Regions from separate parts of the Homo sapiens genome. Here region 2 is linked to region 1. The links are contacts of gene promoters, found by promoter capture Hi-C in blood cells and fetal thymus (Javierre and others, 2016). All regions are on one chromosome and are shown on one strand. The core of a region is centred on a gene start or on the middle of the fragment in contact, and the rest is flanking DNA. Distances in the headings are between cores, read along the strand shown.

What was found. The method cuts DNA at HindIII sites, captures the fragments that hold promoters and counts their contacts. A CHiCAGO score of 5 or more calls a contact.
Region 2: a fragment that was not itself captured here is called in contact with the fragment with the promoter of CWF19L2 in region 1 in 5 of 17 cell types (activated CD4 T cells, total CD4 T cells, naive B cells and 2 more); the score reaches 7.3 in activated CD4 T cells.

What each region holds. Positions count from the first base shown.
Region 1 is chr11:107,456,221-107,459,570 of GRCh38, forward strand. It overlaps CWF19L2 (CWF19 like cell cycle control factor 2), which reads right to left and starts at 1,605. Exons shown (of 18, transcript NM_152434.3): 1 at 1,492-1,605. The coding sequence starts at 1,596. RefSeq lists an enhancer at 1,384-1,889. The HindIII fragment of the contact is 1,493 bases long and covers 881-2,373 here.
Region 2 is chr11:103,110,079-103,113,428 of GRCh38, forward strand. The region is part of intron 1 of DYNC2H1 (dynein cytoplasmic 2 heavy chain 1); the gene reads left to right. Among named protein-coding and RNA genes, the nearest start is that of DYNC2H1, 2.3 kb to the left of the region's middle. The HindIII fragment of the contact is 2,788 bases long and covers 1-2,667 here.

The DNA.
Region 1 (3,350 bases), core at 355-2,854:
TATAAAGAAAGGATCATATTGGTAATTTTTATCCATTCTTCAATGATAGTCAAACAAAGCAAGTTTTTCCTAGGAAATCGTTCCTGCCCTCTTTCTTTCCCTGTAACTCCAAAGCTCAGTTTGGTCCTTTTCAAATTCTATGCATATCTCTACTATAAGATTTATCTCAACTTACGAAACTTACTCCCTCCAAAAACTGCTGGAAATACCAAAGAGAAAAGAATGAATAATATATATATACCCACACACACACATTACATATGTTGAAATTACGAAACAATACCAACATTTCACCTACCCAAGACTAATCGCCCACTCTTCCCCTTTAAAACCTGGCTGTAGTCATTTTCTTTTTTTTTTTAATCAAATATAAAAATAATTTATTAAAGGTTTATATCAGAGAACTGCTGAAGCAACAAGAACTAGAAGAGTTAATATTCCAGAAAAGGGAAAATCATGGAGAGGTAGTCCAACATTCTGCAGCTAGCTTTTCCCTGGGTGCATATAATAATTCTTGGTGTAGGCAAGAAGATGAATACAATGGTTATATACCAAACAGAAAAATCGATATCAGAGAAAAGAGCAGGGCTTATGATGGACTCCAAAGAACAGGGTGAGAAAATTGGAGATTAAAGGAGAATGGGGCTGCTTCACCCTCAAATTATTTGCCAAATTTTGAAACTATGTCATTTTCCCTTTAGAGTCTCCTCTCCCTCTTCTCTGCTGGCTCCTTCTCATTTGCATTTAAACTTGTTTAAAACTCTTCCAACTTAAATAAAAACAAAAACCCTCACTGAATTCTCTGTTGCTCTCCAACTGCAACTTTTCTCTTTCATTGCCACACTTCTTACATATTGAATAGATTGTCAGATAATTCAGAAGCTTACTTTCTCCATTCTTTGTATGTTACCTCTATGTATCTGAAGTTTAGTGAGAAATACAATGTTTCGCGATCTTTTGTGACAGGCTAAATATACTGAGATTGGTGTTAACTTTTGTTTGGATTGGTAAGAGCTTACAGTAAGTCTGGAATTGATACCAATAGAGACAGGAGGAGGAAATGTCAAACTGAGTCTATTCAAGTGTGACTTGAATGTGTTTCCGAAAAAGGAAAATCTCATTTCAGATACAGCAGTAGCAATGACTGAGGCTGCGAGACATGCTGGCAGAGTCCTTACAAGCCGCAGGGGACCTACAAAGTGTGCAGTCCGAGTGATAGAAATGTAAAGAATGGGTAACTTAAAAGGTAAAGAAACTTGGAGAAAAAGCGACAGATCTGCCTGAAAAGAGAATTAGCAACTGGCACCTGCCAGAACATCTAAAAAATCGGTAGCTACAAAAGGGTTTACCGGCATTGCAAAGGGAGAACTCACCCAAATTAAGGTGAGATTCAGTACTGACGAGGTAAGGGAAGGGGTGAGTGGGCTAGCTTACGGGAACCCTCAACTCCCACAACAATAAATAACTACAAAAGCCCCAAAACAGAGGTACCTGGCGCAACACCTCGGCCCTGGCATTCCGGGTCTGTTCTTTCCGCTCTTCGATACTCTTCGCACTTTCAAATCTACCACTAGCAGCCGCCATACTTGTTGCCATCGTAAAGCTAAGAAGCCGCAAGAAAATTCTAGTTTACGACGGTCGTAATTTAACAAACAAACCGGGACTTCCGGACCCGAGGAAGGAGGAGCACGGCTCCACCAACAGGGCATGCGCACATCTGAGGTCGCTTAGGGCTCGGATTACCGCAGCCCAGATTTTAAAGACCCGAAGGGTGTTGGAGGGTTTAATTCTTTCAGGTGTTGGGTGCGATTGTGAGCAGGATTAATACCCGTATATATTTATTATGCACTTTTTACTATATTAACAGCTTTCTCACCAATTTCGTCTTAAAATCACCGGAGTAAGTTACAAGCTCTTGGAAGTTAAGTTGGTACCTCTCAAAAGTTTTCTGCGGAAGTACCCTTTGTCGCCAGAGCATCATTTCCCTGTGCTGGAGGAATGGGATAAAGGGAGGCTGCCAGAAAGGTAGTGGCAGCTGGCAGGAAGGACAGAATTGCCTTGAAGATTCAGTGTTTTGTTTTGGTGGATTTTACTTAATATATGAAACACTCATGTGAATTTTGCATTGCACTTCACAATTTACCCGTGCTTAACTTGTTAGAAGTTTACATTATATTTTTTCCTCTGACCCCATATTATTTACTCATACTTATCCATCCAAGCATTTTTCATTACAATGGACAGTTACTTATTTATTTCTGCGGAGATTTCTTTGTTTTGTTTTACGCATGTATCGCCCAAACATAAAACTTTTAAGTTCAGAAGAATAAGACATTCTAAGGTGATGAAGTGCTTTGAGAACATAAGACACTAAGCTTACATTTACAAGAAGAAGAAGGCTGGGGAATTAATTATAAACGATACCTTAAAGACGCTAAAAATAAGTAACATAAGCCAGGTTGAGGTAAATACTCTTTCTCTTCAGGTTTCATAAAATTTAATGTGTGTTTGCAAGAAGCTTTCCAAGAGTTTTTACATTCACTACCATTCTATGAGTCTGAATCTTGAACACACAATGCCTACTTGTTTGATATGCAATAGAAAGTATTCATTTTATTTTAAAATGTAATTTACTAATCGACCTTGTAATATTTAATCAACTGACTACATTGACTGATATTTGTCATAACTAGCATCAACGTCTTTTCAGATTCTCTTGGAATTCAGAAAAACATCCATTTCACTGTTTTGCATCAATTCAATAAAAATAAACTGTGATTATATTAGAAACGTGTGTGTTTTAATCAGTTCAGGCTGCTATAACAAAATATTATAGAATGGATGGCTTATAAATAACAAACAAGTATGTCTTACAGTTCTGGAGGCTGGATAAAATCAAGGTGTTGGGCTATTTGCTGTCTAGTGAAGGTGTGTCCTGGTTCCTAGAGGGCAGTATTTTTGCTGTGTCTCATATGGCGGAAAGGGAGAGGGATCTCTCTAGAACTTCTTTTATAGGAATTCATGAGGGTGCTGCTCTCATGACCTAATCACCTCCCAGAGTCCCTACCTCCATATACCAGCACATTGGGGATTAGATTTCAACATAAGAATTTTGGGGAAACAAACATTCGGTCTAGAGCAATGTGCAAAGTTATATGAAGAAAACTTTAAAATCTTGCATAAGCTCCCCAAAAAGACTAGAACGAATGGAGAGGTATACTATGTGCTTAAAGAAGAAAACATCATAAAAAATCATTTCTCAATTAATTTGTAAATACCATGCAATACAAATAAAACTGCCCAAAAAAAAGTTGGGGTTAGAGAGGGGAACTAGATATGTTAAAATAGAA
Region 2 (3,350 bases), core at 24-2,523, 4.3 Mb before region 1:
AGTGTAGTGGCGCGATCTCTGCTCACTGCGTCCTCCACCTCCTGAGTTCAAGCGATTCTCGTGCCTCAGCCTCCCGAGTAGCAGGCGCGCGCCGCCACGCCTGGCTAATTTTTGTATTTTCAGTAGAGACGGGGGTTTCACCACGTTGGCCATGTGGGTCTCCATCTCCTGACCTCAAGTGATCCGGCCTCCCAAAGTGCTGGGATTGCAAGCATGAGCCACCGCGCCCGGCCTATATTCTACTTTTTAAGAAAGACTGCAGATACGTTATAACTAAAAAGAAAACATTTACTTAGTTATTTTTATTTTTTTCTCTCCCCTTTTTGAGTTTTTTTTTTGGGGGGAAGGCAAATTCTAGTCTATCTTTTTTGGATCAGGCTCTGATTTTAACATTGCCCAAGGGAAAGATTAGTTAGGAATTTAAATTTTTGTGAAATGATATATTTCAAAATAAAGTTTGAATTCTTTTTTGGTGTACATCATGTGATATACTGATTTATTAATTGCACTGCTCCCTCCACTGGCAGGATTGCTTAAAAAATGGGTTGCATTTGCAATCAGGGCTTATATATATAAGCCTAAAAGAAAAACACAGAAGAAAATTGCCTGACACATTAAAGGGGACTCAGTAAATAGATTTAAGTTAATAAAACAAAGACATATTTTAAACCTCTTCCTTTGGTGTTCACCCTTATCCCTAGGTCTAGCAGAGTTTTTGACACTCAGCAAAAACATTCAGTGCCTTTTTTTTTTTTTTTAGACGCAGTTCGCAGTTTCGCTCGTATTACCCAGGCTGGAGTGCAATGGCACAATCTTGGCTCACTGCAACCTCTGCCTCCCGGGTTCAAGCGATTCTCCTGCCACAGCCTCCCAAGTAGCTGGGATTACAGGGCATGTGCCACCACACCCAGCTAATTTTTTGCAATTAGTAGAAATGGGGTTTCACCATGTTGGTCAGGCTGGTCTCGAACTCCTGACCTCAGGTGATCCACCCGCCTTGGCCTCCCAAAGTGCTGGGATTACAGGTGTGTGCCACCGTGCCTGGCTTCAGTGCATTTTTATAGGATGATTGAATCATTCACCCTATTCACTATCTTTATTCTTAGGTTTAATTCGATTGTATTTAATAAACATTTACTTTGAACTCAGTACATGCAAGGCACTTTGCCAGGCATGATGGGTTTACAAAGATATAAAAAGGATGGATAATCATAGCTAACATTTATTTTCACTTTAGACTCTGTCAAGCACTGTTCTAAGTACTTTATATGTATTCGTTCATTTAATAGCCATAACGACATTGTAAGATAGGAACTATTCTTTTTCTTATTTTATGGCTGAGGAAAGTAAGGGACAAAATTTACAACCTAAATGTTAACTTTTCTTTTTCTCCAATAGGTAGCGTAGTTCAGGATAGAGCCCCCTGCTTTCTGCCTTTCCTAGACTCACTCCAGTGGCTTAGGATGACATATACTCAGCAAATGATAAAATCAGGACACACTGTTGTAAATGCCACTGAAAGTTCGGATAGAATGCAGTAGGAAAGATGGAAAGGGGTTTGGATTCGTGAAAGTGTATCTTGGCTTGGGTATTTGAAAGTTGAAGGTAGAACTTTTTTTTTTTAAGTTAAAGCTATTACTAGTAAAGCCCAACGATGTATCTGTTATTTTTAGTTGTACACTTCGCTACAGGTTTTTAGTCATATTTGAAAATATTTTGTTATGTCTTCAGTTGTACTTTAGTTGCCTGATAGTTAGCGTGATTCAATAAGTTAATAAGTCAGCAAATATTTATTGCCTACCTACTAGTACTGGGGACAAAGCCATGAACACAGAGTCCGTATCTTAAAGGAGTAACATTGGAATGGACAAAGGTAGGCTAAACGCATGCTACAGATATATGTAACATAATTTTGGGTATTGATAAGTGCCGTTAAGATAAAAATAATGTTATAGTAGTGATGGGGCAGCGTGGGGAACTAAAGATATATAGGGTGGGAGATAATCCCTCTCTGGATTAGTTATCTTTGAAGCGAGATTTGAATGATGAGTTGCAGGCAGGCATAACCTGGGGGAAGAGTGTTCTAAGCAAAAGAAACTGTAAGTACCAAGGCCCTGAGCTGGGTTTTAACTTAGTTTCCAGGGGCAAGAAAAAAAATCCAGAGTGATTGCTGGAGTTTATGGTATGAAGGAACATTGTGGTAGATGAGAAAGGAGAATAAGGCACAGGCTGATCATTTAGGACACTGTATACCATTTAAATTGAAATAGGAAGTTATTGGTAATCTTAAGCAAGAGAGAGCTGTGATCTGGTTTATGCTTTAGGACAGAGGTTGGCAAAAAGTTTTCTGTAACGGGTCAGATAATATTGCAGGCAACAAGGGCTCCATTAGCAGCTACAACTTGGCCTTTGTAGTGTGAAAGCAGACATGTAATACTTTGTAATAATACATGTAATTGAATGGGAATGGCTATGTTCTAATAAAACTTTATGGACACTGACATGTGGATTTCATATACTTTTCATGTGTCATGAAATGTTATAAGCATTTGAGCAGTAACAAAGTTTCAGCTCCTTTCCAGTGGCCAAAAATGTAATTATTTGGATAGAAATAAGTGGCATGAGACCCATAGCTGTTCTTCCTACACAGCAGTGACCTTGTCTGAAAGCTTTTTAATGTGTAGACTTCTTTTCCTGAAAAAAGAAATGAGAATAACTGAGAATGTGTGTATAATGCAAAAACTTCCTTTGACTAGTATAGTTCTCAGCTAATGAACTCATTACTATGAACTGACCTATTTTAAACAAGATTGCTGTAGTGAATTCCAATTGAGTTCATCTGGTTCCGATTTAAAATAATCTAGCTATATGACAATTTAACAAAGTTTTATGCTCTTAACTCTTTAAGGAAAAATTTTCAGTTAAGATAAAGTTAATTTCAGGAGATAGACAACTTAAGTTCATTTTGGTAGTTTTGAGTGCATGTATAATTTTAAAAGCACCTTTTAAAATGCTTTTTCTAAGTAAGAGGGTAATTAATTACATTTTGTTATAGACTTTCTGGGTTACTAGAGAAGCACACTACTCATTGTGTACCTGGAGCCTACAGCTTTCATCTGTACTATTACTGATTCTGGCTAGAATGGACTCTGGCTGGAATGGAATCTGGCTGGAATGGAATCTGACTGGAATGGAATAGTTAGCAGTCAACAACGTATATATTGTTTTATGTTTATAAATAACTTATCAAAGTGACTTTATGATCTAATGTAAGTGGGAATAAGTTTTTAAACTGAAGTATTCTTAAGGAAAGAAGAGATAAATTGGTTTTAATATATTTATTTTTAAAG